Regions from separate parts of the Homo sapiens genome. Here region 2 is linked to region 1. The links are contacts of gene promoters, found by promoter capture Hi-C in blood cells and fetal thymus (Javierre and others, 2016). All regions are on one chromosome and are shown on one strand. The core of a region is centred on a gene start or on the middle of the fragment in contact, and the rest is flanking DNA. Distances in the headings are between cores, read along the strand shown.

What was found. The method cuts DNA at HindIII sites, captures the fragments that hold promoters and counts their contacts. A CHiCAGO score of 5 or more calls a contact.
Region 2: a fragment that was not itself captured here is called in contact with the fragment with the promoter of ADAMTS9-AS1 in region 1 in 1 of 17 cell types (erythroblasts); the score reaches 5.4 in erythroblasts.

The regions. Positions count from the first base shown.
Region 1 is chr3:64,557,511-64,563,119 of GRCh38, reverse strand. ADAMTS9-AS1 (ADAMTS9 antisense RNA 1) reads right to left here and starts at 1,774. Exons shown (of 2, transcript NR_110151.1): 1 at 1,352-1,774. ADAMTS9 (ADAM metallopeptidase with thrombospondin type 1 motif 9) reads left to right here. Exons shown (of 40, transcript NM_182920.2): 30 at 1,369-1,542. The HindIII fragment of the contact is 2,192 bases long and covers 420-2,611 here.
Region 2 is chr3:65,707,621-65,713,884 of GRCh38, reverse strand. The region is part of intron 1 of MAGI1 (membrane associated guanylate kinase, WW and PDZ domain containing 1); the gene reads left to right. Among named protein-coding and RNA genes, the nearest start is that of MAGI1-AS1, 180 kb to the left of the region's middle. The HindIII fragment of the contact is 172 bases long and covers 3,681-3,852 here.

The sequences.
Region 1 (5,609 bases), core at 525-3,024:
AATGACTTTAAAAGTCTGGTTTCTTGTGGGTCACAAACTCATTCAATCCAATTAATACAATTGAGCCCAAACAATAGTAGCTATGTTGATCCAAAATATTTTCTTCTGTTCAGCTAGCTTTGATGTGAACATATGGTTCTCCTCTCTGGCATAGATTTATCTGAAACAGTATGATTTCTCAAGTTACCTTCTAAATATCGTTACCTGTTTTCTTAAAATCTGAAATGGAGAGAAAATTACCATTCAGCAGAATACATTTGGGTGTGATTCTTGATAGTAAATTTCCATTAATAGTCTCAAAGAAAGTTGAATGTTGCTACAGGTTAATTGGAAAATAATTTTTTCAAGTTTGAAAGGTCATGATTCTATTATTTAAGAAGACTTCCTCTTAGGAATATGGCTTTAATGTATGTTAAGCTTATTTTCTCAACACCAGACCAAAAAATGGAGGCTGAGCTATCACAAAAATTTGGAAATAATTTTTAATAGCTAAGTGTAATAATATACCATTCTTTCCAAATGTTGCCTTTAGTTTCTGGCTGTCAAAACCTTAATCAAGACAATAATTCTTGGCCTGGCCATAAGTGAGATTATGAAACCCAGCAATGAGGAAACCATTAAAAAATTAATTTAGAGGAAAGTTAATTGCAGATTTAATATGGTGTTTTGCAAGTTGGTCAGCAAAATGTTTCAACATGATTAACAATATTTTTCAAGGGCTGAAAACATTAAGCCCGAGGAAATGGTTTTTCCTGTCAGCTTTTATTCTTCATATATTCATCTGAGGTTGTAAATAGACACAAATTCTTTAGTGAATTCTGTGGTTAAAAAAATATCGCCTTATCTCCATGAATAGGAGCAAGAAAAGGAAGAGACTGGAGAAAATAATTCTACTTATAAAGTCCTAAAATCTTCAGTGGTTTACTTCTCCTTGGGTTATATTTTTAATCTGCCAAGAAATTCTTCTTGTACAACACTGTCTCTCCAGTTTTCATGAGTCTCAAATCCTCCAGGATAGAAATCATTTCAAGTTTTCATTTCTCATGGCAGCACTATTTCCAGGTTGTGCTAAATGATTCATAATGATTTTTATTAACCTCTTCAATCCTCTAAGAATTACATTAACTTGAGGGATTCCTCCAAACTTGAGCACCTTCCTCACTCTCCAGCGTGGATAAGATAAGCAGTGAGTTTCCAGGTTTAAGACATGATCTAGGATCCCTTTCATTGCAAATTAGAAAGCGATGTGATAGCTATGAAAGTCATTGGATTAGGAGTGCATTCCCCTCCTCTGTGACCCTCGACACCCCCCGCCCCCCCAAAAAATAAATGAGCCGAAGCTCCCACTTACGTTCTCTGTCTTCTTAGTGCTCTGTGTCCTGTGGCCGAGGCGTACAGCAGAGGCATGTGGGCTGTCAGATCGGAACACACAAAATAGCCAGAGAGACCGAGTGCAACCCATACACCAGACCGGAGTCGGAACGCGACTGCCAAGGCCCACGGTGTCCCCTCTACACTTGGAGGGCAGAGGAATGGCAAGAAGTAAGTAGAGCCACAAAGGGGTACCTGCCAGGCATTTCACGTGTGCGCCCCTTGCTATCCTCACATCTGTTCCCTATAAAGCCAGAGAAGTCACCGAGCACGGTTACAATGCTGGCTCTTTCCCAAAAGGTTCACTGTCAGACTCGCGCATTCGCTCCAACAAGGGTGGGAGAACTTCTTGTTTTTAAGCAATTCCTACGTCTGTCTGTATTCCTGAGTGTTCCAAGTCTGGCCGCCTCAAAAAAAAAAAAAAAAACTTTAACAGGCTGTGGGCCGAATGCATTCAGATATCTTTCACAGAAGGAGGGGGAGATAGAAGGAATATTTTAAATACGTGTCTCCAGATTTGGTCATTCTGTATCTGTTTAAATAGCCGCAGGGCAGACTTTAGGTAGAACCTACTCTGTATTTTTCCTCTTTCTATGACTTTGGCTGTCAGGTAGAAGATAGGCATTCATGTGAAACCTTGATTAATTAGTGAAAGATTTCTAACATTTAAAAAAAAAAAAAAAGGATGGTATCTGAAGAAACTGCTCCGTTGATGGTCCGTGCAGAAGTGGACAGGCCTTGCTTTTTCCCTGGCTTCAAGTTAATGTTTGGTTAAGGAAAACATTGTGTCCATGGGGAAAAGTTTGGCCAGGGAGGTTTTATAGGAGGTAACCTCTGTTTCCAGAACAGAAGATTAAACTGTAGAAAAGGGGGGGAAAGAATTAGAAAGCAAAACAATATCCACTGATGTTGGCATAAAAAACAAAATGCATGCTGCTTGAGGTGCAGAGATAATGAAAAATAAGGCAGGAAATTCCCCACCATGAAGAGTTTTTCAGAACATAAAGAAAGGGTATGGTTTGGAGAACAGTTAGACTGTACCCCTGGCACTGTGCTGGGTACTTTTTGTTCATTGCTTCCCTTAATCTTTTTAACCACCAGACAAGGTGAGCATTATTATTATTATCATCATCCCATTTTGCAGGTGAAAAAACTGAGGTTCACAGAATCTGTGTCATTTGTCCAAGTGTCACATACCTAGCACCTAGCAAGTGGAAGAAGCAAGACTTCATGCTAAGCTTGTTCTCTTAAACCATTAAGAAATACTAGAACTGCATTCTTTACCCCATTGGGATTCAGCCGCCCAGCCCTGTCTTCCTCTTCCCTCGCCTCCTCATGGATTACTTCCATTGGTTGCAGTAATTTCTTTTCTTTAGGAAACTCACCCTCTCCATCTACTCAGTCTTTTTCCTGTTTTCCTTCTTTACTTTTTTATTCCCACCAGACAGTGGCAGGGAGGAATGCCTAAAGCAGTTACATTTCAGATTAACAGCTCTTGAGCCACACCAGTTATTTGGAACCCTAGAGACTATAAAATTCTACAGACTTGGTTCATATCCTAGCACTGCCACACATTAGCCAAGGGAATTAGAACAAGGATTCTTGATTTCTCTGAGCCTTGGATTATCCATTTGTAGAATGGGGATAAAATAACTTTTCAGAGTTGTTCTGAGAAAACTGGAGGTAATAGTGTTATCTATTATGGTTTGGGGATTGGCAACGTCAGATATAGAAGGAAGAGGAGACTCCCTCATCTCTCTCGCTCTCCCCCTCAGTGTGACCTCTTGATTCTCTTTTTTTCAGACCTACCATGGCCTGCTCTCTCCATCTCCCTCTTTGTGTCACGCTAAACTCAACCCTGCTCCGAGGAGCGGAAAGTAAGAGAGTGTTCAGAAATGAATCTAAGCTGACTGCTTGTGCTTTAGCCAGCTTTTGAAAATGCTAGAGCCAATCACGAAAATGCACACTCTGTTTACAATTCCTTTTGCATCCCGAAGAATGGAAAAACCTTGCCACATATGCACTGAGGAAATTCCTCTTCTCTGATCATGCACAATATGCCTAAAATTTACTTCTTTGCATGTGTCGTGCAGATGGATCTTTTTTAAACCTTACTCAAATATTCCTGTTAAACTCTGTGGAAGAATAGACGGCTTCAGGAGATAACCTGGCCTGGGCCTCTATTTAAGAAGCTTACTAGAGGGTTGCCATTCTCACAAAGAGAAAAGACTCTGTGAGTAACAGGAAAAGCAGAGTCTAATAGTCACCCTCCTGGGAACACGCTTTCTCATCTGCCTTCACCCAAAGTGGAGGGTCTAAGGAAGGAATACTGGGGTGGTGAAAGTGGACGGAATATCATAGGAGTATCTCCTATGATATTCCTATGGTATTCTACAGGAGGCCTCTCATTGGCAGAGTGAGGCCCAGGGCAGCTGGAGGTGGGGAGAAGCCCCACCAAAAGTCTTCATGTTTCCCATACATGCAAGGCCTGCTGACAGCCTGCTCAGAATGTCCCCAAAGCAGCAAGACTGAGCGTGAAGGACGACAGTAACTGGGCAATTACCTTAATTGATCAAATCAGGAAAAGGGTGGCCACGCCTCCTGTTTGCCTGGGGTAGTCCTCATGTAATTATTAATTCTTCCTACTTTTATGATCAAAAGCGCCCTTGTTCAACAGTAAACTGGGTGGTCACTTGATAAGACAGAACCCTTCAGGCTCCCCTAAATCACAGCCCTCACCTCCGATCTTGCTGCCACCGCCTCTCACATCCATTCTTTCAGCCACCGTTTTACCTGATATCCACTGATGCAGGCACACGTTTCCACTTTTCTCCCACACCTAGTGACGTCTTGACCTGAGGTCAGAGAGTGTGCCACAGGGCAGCCTCTCAGCCCACTGAATGGGATGTGCAGGAGCCCCCCATTATAGGATACCCCTTCTTTCTTAGCGGTCCCTGGCCACCACCTCAGAACTCTTGTTTGCTTGAGTATGCACTTTGCCTTTTGCTTCCCCTTTTAATAGTCCCCTATGTGGACTATTAAAACCCACCAGTTTGTTGGCAAGGTGTATTGCATGCTTGGTCCGTAGGATATGGCACCATCCTCTTTTTGAGAAATAATCCAAGCATCTGCCTAGAGAAGCACAGTTTCTGCACCCTCACCATGGCCATGGTCATCAGGGATGTTCTGTACAGCCACACAGGTTGTATACTGCACAACTTTGAGGGATGCCATTTTTATACAATGTGAGGAGCGTCCCCTAGAGTTGTATAGTACAATGGCCCTAATACTGAAGATAATAAAAATAATAAAGCTTATTGTTTACTAAGCTACAAACTAGGCACTATGTTGAGTATTTTCACATGAAGTGCTTCATTTAGCCCTTTCCATAACTCTCTGATGTAGTATTTATATTTTTATCCTCATTTAATAGGGGCAACTTGCGGCTTAGGTAGGTTAATTTATCAATGATCATGCATTTAGTAAATAATATGGCTGGAATTTGAAGCCCGGAAGCTTGCACGCTGGCACCTACACTCTGAATCATTATCTTCACTAATCCGATGCCAAATACACCTAAAGTGAATTATTTTATTTTCCTCTCAATGATTTGCCAAGCCTCTTACTGGAGAGTTGCTATCAAAGTGTATTCCCTTTACTGGGTTGTAACACCTACCCCTTCTAAAAAGGAGATTCTTGATCTAGTTAGCTATCAGACTTTAAGCCATGTCACCAGGCGAGTCTTGATGATGTTGGAGCCCCTCAGTGGACTTCCTGTTCATTGTGAAGCCCATTGGTTGTTCAGGGGAAAGGGGCCTTCTTGATACCATGAGAGTAGAGCCCAGACTTTCAGATATAGGGTAGAATAATTGGACAAGAGAAAAGTGCTCTATCCACACATCCACATCTCATTTTGTTTACATCCTAGAAACAACATGTTGTAGGCAAAATTCTGTTCAGTGTGTGGCTCTGAAAAGTTGACTCTGAATTTCTAGACTTCACTTAGCTCATCTGCCAAATGGGAATTCTATGGCAGACTTTGCTCAAGGGTCACAGTGAGGATTTGGTGAGATGACATGATTCGACATGGTGACTAGCACATTTTAGGCCATCCCAAAGTAGACTTCTTTTTAGTACGGTGGCCTTCCGATGGAGGCTTCTGGTGATGACAGCAGTTTGACTCAGCCTGCACCTTATAATGTTGGGCTTCTAATATCACCCGCCAGCTTCAGGTGAGT
Region 2 (6,264 bases), core at 2,517-5,016, 1.1 Mb before region 1:
CAAGGACTTTATTTTGTTCACCTTTGTTTTCCCAGCAGCTAAATTAGTGCCTGGTGGTAGGAAGCAGGCATGCAGTAAATGTTTAGGAACCATGTCTGTTTTGTACCCCAGGGTTTTCTCAGTGTTTGACAAAACTACCTGTGACGTAGTAGGCACACACAAAATACTTACTGAATGAATACATAAATGAATGAATGAACTTACCAGGTCCTGAGTAATGGAGCCAGGACTTGAACTGAGGTCTCTTTGGCTCTTAAGCCTTGTGCTTAACTATTATGTATCTCTGCCCTTCTCGGTTAGTGGTAGAATCAGCTCAGTTCTCAAAAATTGTTGGGGCTTAGGCTTCTGTCTGACTTGTTTTAGTAGTTCCCACAGGGTAGACAGCCAGTATTATATTGGAAGGGACTTTGTAATAAAAGAGTTTCTTTCTTTTTTTTCTTTTTTTAAAAAATCTCTCTTGCAGCTTGATAGGGGGAAAACAATGGTTACCTCCCAGAATCTGAAAGAACCATTTTTACTCAAATACAAGGCTCTCTTTCCAGAGCTCCCTGTGGGTGACAGCATGGAGGGTTTGACCAAGAATGTTGAGTTTCTTCCCGGGCTAGTTTCCATGGTGATGGCTGCAGCTTTGCTAAGGCTGGTATGGCAGGGAGAGGAAGCAGAAGACAGGGTGATGTTGCATCACTCAAGCAACCAGAATGTTTTATGCCCACAAACAGCAGGGCCTGCTGCAAATGCCAATGAACAGAAACTGGCTCAGGAGTAGAAGGAATGGGGCCTGGAAAGCTATTCTCTCTCTAGGACTTTCTGTCTTTACTGCATTTTGAAAGCTTAGGCTGTATTTAGGGTCAAAACTGAACAGTAAGATTCCTTTCCTAGCTATGAGCTTCCTGAATGAATATTTAATTGGAGAGCCTACCAGTGAGAGAATAAAGGTAGAGTGATGGTCACTTGCTGAGATTTGCAGAGACATCCCAAAGCATTTAGGGGCAGCATTTGTAGAAAATTCCTAGAAAGTGTTTTATTGAGCAACTATTTATAGAATGCTATTTAGGTCATTTGTTGCTGCATAGCAAATCACCCCAAAACATAGTGACTTGAAACAATTTCTTTGGGAGACCGAGGTGGGTGGATTACTTGAGGCCAGGAGTTTGAGACCAGCCTGGCCAACATGGTGAAACCTCGTCTCTACTAAAAATACAAAAATTAGCTAGGTGTGGTGGTGTGTGCCTGTAGTCCCGGCCACTCAGGAGACTGAGGCATGAGACTTGTTTCAACTTGGGGGCAGAGGTTGTAGTGAGCTGAGATCACGCTGCTGCACTCCAACCTGAGTGACGGAGTGAAACTCTGTCTCAACAACAACAACAACAACAAAAACAAAAACAAAACACAATTTTATTATCGCGCATGGCTTTTTTTTTTTTTTTTTCTTGCTTGGGGTCTCTCGTGGTTGCAGCCAGATGGTAGCTGCAGCTGGATTCATCTGGAAGGATTCCTGACTCACATGTCTGGCAGTTGTTGCTGGCATTGTTTGGGACTGACAGTGAGGACCATCAGCCAGAACCTACACATGGCCTCCCTGTGCGGCTCAGTTTCCTCAGAGCATGGTGGGTGGGCGCCAAGACTGAGTATCTAAGAGAGAGGAACTGGAATTCTCTTAACCCTTTGACCTGGAAACTGTCAAAAATCACTTCTGTCATATTCTGTGGGTCAAGTCTAAGAGCCCAAATTAAAGAGAAGGGCACATGGACCCTACCTTTCAATGGGAGGAGTGTAACAGAATTTTTAGGTTGTGTTTTTAAACCATCACAAGAGCCAACCATTTGCTAGGCACTTTGGAGAAACACCCTCTCTTTCTGTCCTCATGAAGTTTATAGCCTGGGAGATAGATATCAATCCAAAATCACAAGAATAAAAGATAAATTGCAATATGGTAAGGGTTCTGAAGGAGATATGATCAGAGAGTCTACAATATGGGGATTGTATTAATTTGCCGAGGCTGCCATAACAAGGTATCACAGACCAGGTGGCTTGAACGATGGACTTTGTTTTCTCTCAGTTCTGGAGGCTAGAAGTCCCAGATCAAGGTGTTAGTAGGTTTGGTTTCTTCTGAGACCTTGCTCCTTGGCTGCCAGACTCCTGCTGTTATCCCTCTGTGTCCTCACCTGGTCTTTCTGCTGGATACATGCTCATTCTTGTCCTAACCTCCTCTTTTTCTCAGGACACCAATTGTATTGGATTAGGCGCACCCATATGACCTCATTTTGCCTTAATAACCTCTTTAAAGGGCCTATGTAAATACATTCACATTCTGAGGTACTGAGGATTAGGATTTTAGCAGATGAATTTTGGGGGGACAAAACTAAGCTCATAGCAGGGAATTGCCTAAAGATTTTTTTGTGTTTTTTTTGTCTGTAGGTATTTCTTGTTATGGATATAAACTCAAATTTTGGAGTTTTGAATTATCTGTTTTTAGAGATTGTTTATCTAAAACCTTTTTACATTTGAATAAAACGTTTATGTGGTTCCAAAGTAAAATCTGAAGCCTGTTCAAAGAAATCTGGCTTCCAAACTTCAACCTCATTTCCTCTGAATGTCCTTCTCTATTTGACCTTGGTATAATACAGTTCATAGTAATTGTTTCTTACTAGTAATTATTTCAACCCTTCTAGACTGCAAGCTTCATGAAGGCAGAAACTTTTATTCTCTTGTTCATAGCATCATCCACAAAAAATCTAACACTGTACCTAGAACACACTTGGTGTTTGGTGACTAGTTGTTGAATGGACATGTGGCATTGGAGTTTAAGGTGTAGACTGGAACCAGTAGGTTTGGGAATTGTCTTCATTGTCTTCATAGAGGCTATGAAAATGGATGAGACCCATCTAGTGGGATGAGTTACAAAAAGAAAAGGCAAACAGTTGAAGGTCTATATTTAGGGGACAGAACAAGGACGGTAAGCAGAGAGAAAAAAGGAACAGTTGGAGAAATGGTAGGAAAGTGGGAGAAAGTCTGTATCAATGGGCATTGGGAAAGCATATATTTAAAACGGACTCCTTAGTCAAGAAGGGCATGGTTGAAAAGTGCTGAACTGGACACTGGAAGACATTGGTTCAAGTTTTGCTTCTACCTTGATTTGTTGTGTGACCTTGGGCAAATTAGTCTCTGAAAATCAGTTTCTTCACGTGTGGAATGAGAATCACTGTATCTATCTGCATTGTCTACCTCGTAGGGTATATGAGCTTCAAGAGATAATAGTGTTAACTCAAATCTAGAAACTTCTTAGTGCTTTAGAAATGTAAGGTTAAGGCTGGGCACGGTGGCTCACGCCTGTAATCCCAGCACTTTGGGAGGCCGAGGTGGGTGGATCACCTGAGGTCAGGAGTTCGAGACCAGCCTCAATATGGAGAAACCCCATCTCTACTAAAAATACAAAATTAGCCGGGCATGGTGGTGCATGCCTGTAATCCCAGCTACTCAGGAGGCTGAGGCAGGAGAATTGCTTGAACCTGGGAGGCGGAGGTTGTGGTGAGCCAAGGTCGCGCCATTGCACTCCAGCCTGGGCAACAAGGGCAAAACTCTGTCTCAAAAAAAAAAAAAAAAAAAAAAAAAAAAGAAATGTAAGGTTAATAAGTGATTCACCAAGTAAAGACATCTTCTAAACTTACCTAGTTTAAGCTTGCCTTTTCACTGATCGCTTGTCTGCCTTCTATTTTGCCTTATTATAGTATTTTGCTTTTTAAAACCATTCCTTTAAAAAAAGGCTTGTGAAATCTTGGGGAGTAACCTCTTAACATACTTTCTCTAACAACAAGGTAGTCTACAAAAGACAACTTTCAGAAGTCAAAAGCTTGGGCTTTATGTGGCACATTTCACTATTTGCTCACCAAGTCAGCTTTTTGGAGAAGCTTTGATTGTAAGGTCACTGGTTTGGGATGCAGTGTTTCTCATAACTTAATTCACACCAGATACTTCTAGGCAAGAGAGTATCAATCATGATTTGATTTACACCAGTTATGGTTTATGTTTCAATTAATGTAGAGGCTAGTTCTGTACGTCAATTAGAGCTACTAAAATTCTTTTCAAATTGCTTGACAAAAACATATCTTCAAGTTTTAATCTGTCAAATGCAACGTGAAAACGTGAAATGAGCACTCTTCTCATATTCAGATGAAGGTGGCAAAATTGGGTGTCAATGTGCTTAAAGACATCTCTAATGGATAAGTTATGGAAAGGCTGATCCGAAGTGCATCTGGTCTTGCTAGAAGCTCATGTTGGCAAAGAAAAGCCGTAAGACTACTGACGTTTCCTGTTGTCTCTAATTTGGTATCTTTGCTTTCCCAAAACTCACCCATGATGTTCCTAAAAGAGGTTTAAATATTTTATCCTCCAATCTTGCTCTATTCAGTGGCTCTTAAAGATGAAGAGAGACCTCAGATGTATTAATAGAGGTAGGTGAGTCAACTCACTTTTAATGACAGAGACTTGACAAAAGACAGCTTCAAAGATACCTGTTCTTAAAACTTTTGAAGGCTCTGTAATCCAGTGTGCTAAGCATTGGACTGGAAAAAAAAGAGATAGCAGGTTTTCATTTCTGGCATGCCACTGACTGCCCTTGCTTTGGAGATTGGTATAAGAAATGTGTTGAGCTGCATATTTTCTCGTTGCCCCTTTTCATTACTTGGAAAAAACCAAGCGAGAATGATGTGAATGCTGAGCACATTTCTGTCACCAAAAGAGAACGGCCATGTAGTGTATATACATATTCATGTTTACTTGAAAATCACTGGCTAACTTTAAGCATAATTTCTGTTATGCCAAAGCCCAGATGTGCAGGCTTGTCCCTCTTCTGAGGTCCAGGTAAATTAGAACCCTTATAAAACCTCTGTTAACCTTTATAAAACCTCAGTTTGCCCCTCTAAGGCCACAGAATTTGTGAGGCATTGGGAGATGGGTGATAGAGTTGGAAATTACTCCTTCCTGCTTGGGTGGATTTACCGTTTCTCCTTTCTCCTCATGTTCATCACCTACCCAGGTATCCTGGAATTTGGTGAAGAAGAAAAAGAAGAAAGAAGGGAAGGGTTGATTGAGAAGAATGGCAGTCTGTCTGGAAGCCACCAGAAGAGATATAATGCTAGCTCTTGTCTGTTCTTTCTCTGTCCTTCCCCCGTTTTCTTTCTCTCTTCTTTCTTCTTTTGCTTTTTACTCTCTTGCCATCATTCTCCTCTTCTTCCCTCCCTTCCTTTTTTCTCACTTTTTCATCCTTCCTTTTTTCTTTCCTCCCCACCACCAATGACCGATTTGCCCACCTGACTGCCCCCAAGCCTTAACTAGAAGAAATAATTGAGCACTTTCTCCCCAAATTCAAGTTTCAAAAGAAAGAGATGTTCTGAGTTAAGTGAGGCAGTGGCATCTCCCAGTCCGTCTCTGCTTCTTCGTCTCTGAGGGGTCTGTCACCTCTATCAGTGAAGCAAGCACCTGGCTGCTCCTCTGAGCCTGTTCTGTCTCTCTTCCTCAGGCACAGAAGAGCTTCTCACTGGTAATTACAAGAGGACAGAGGATACTTATCCCAATGAAAGCTAACCTTCCTCTTCTTTTGGCGTTTACTACCATCTCTTTATTCTTTTAACAATTCATTTCCATATTTAAATGCCATTGATTTCTTTAAAAGGGGGGAAAAGCCAGGTTGGGTCCTATCTGTAAATCATTGTCCTGTCTTGAACCTCAGGTAAGAGAGGCATTGGCTTTGTCAGGTTGATTCTAAAGATTATTTTTCAACTCCAGGAAGTGGGTTACATTTATAGGGGTGATTATTTTGGTAAATAGGACATATGTAGAACTATGTCCAATTCCATACTTTTTGATGGTGAGATGCTTTTAAAGTGTGTAGACATTGATACCTTATCCAATATTACCTCATTCTTTCTATGTGCCAGTTTTATATTCTTCACACAGTTACAGCCGCAGGTTGGATTGGCATGGCCATGACTTTGGATTTTTAGCGACCTCCTAATTTTATTGGCTTGCTTTCCTCTCTGGTTCAGCTATCAATATAGTTTAAAGGTTTTACTGAGAAAGAAGCTTGAGAGGGTGTGTAAAATCCATAGTTGGTGAAATATCTTTTTATCTTTGTGGCTTAATAATTATCTTTTCTCCAGGGATTCTTTTGCCAACTTTTTTTTTTTTTTTTTTTTTGAGATAGGGTATCACTCTGTCACCCAGTTTGCCGTGCAGTGACCCCATCATGGTTCACTGTAGCTTCAA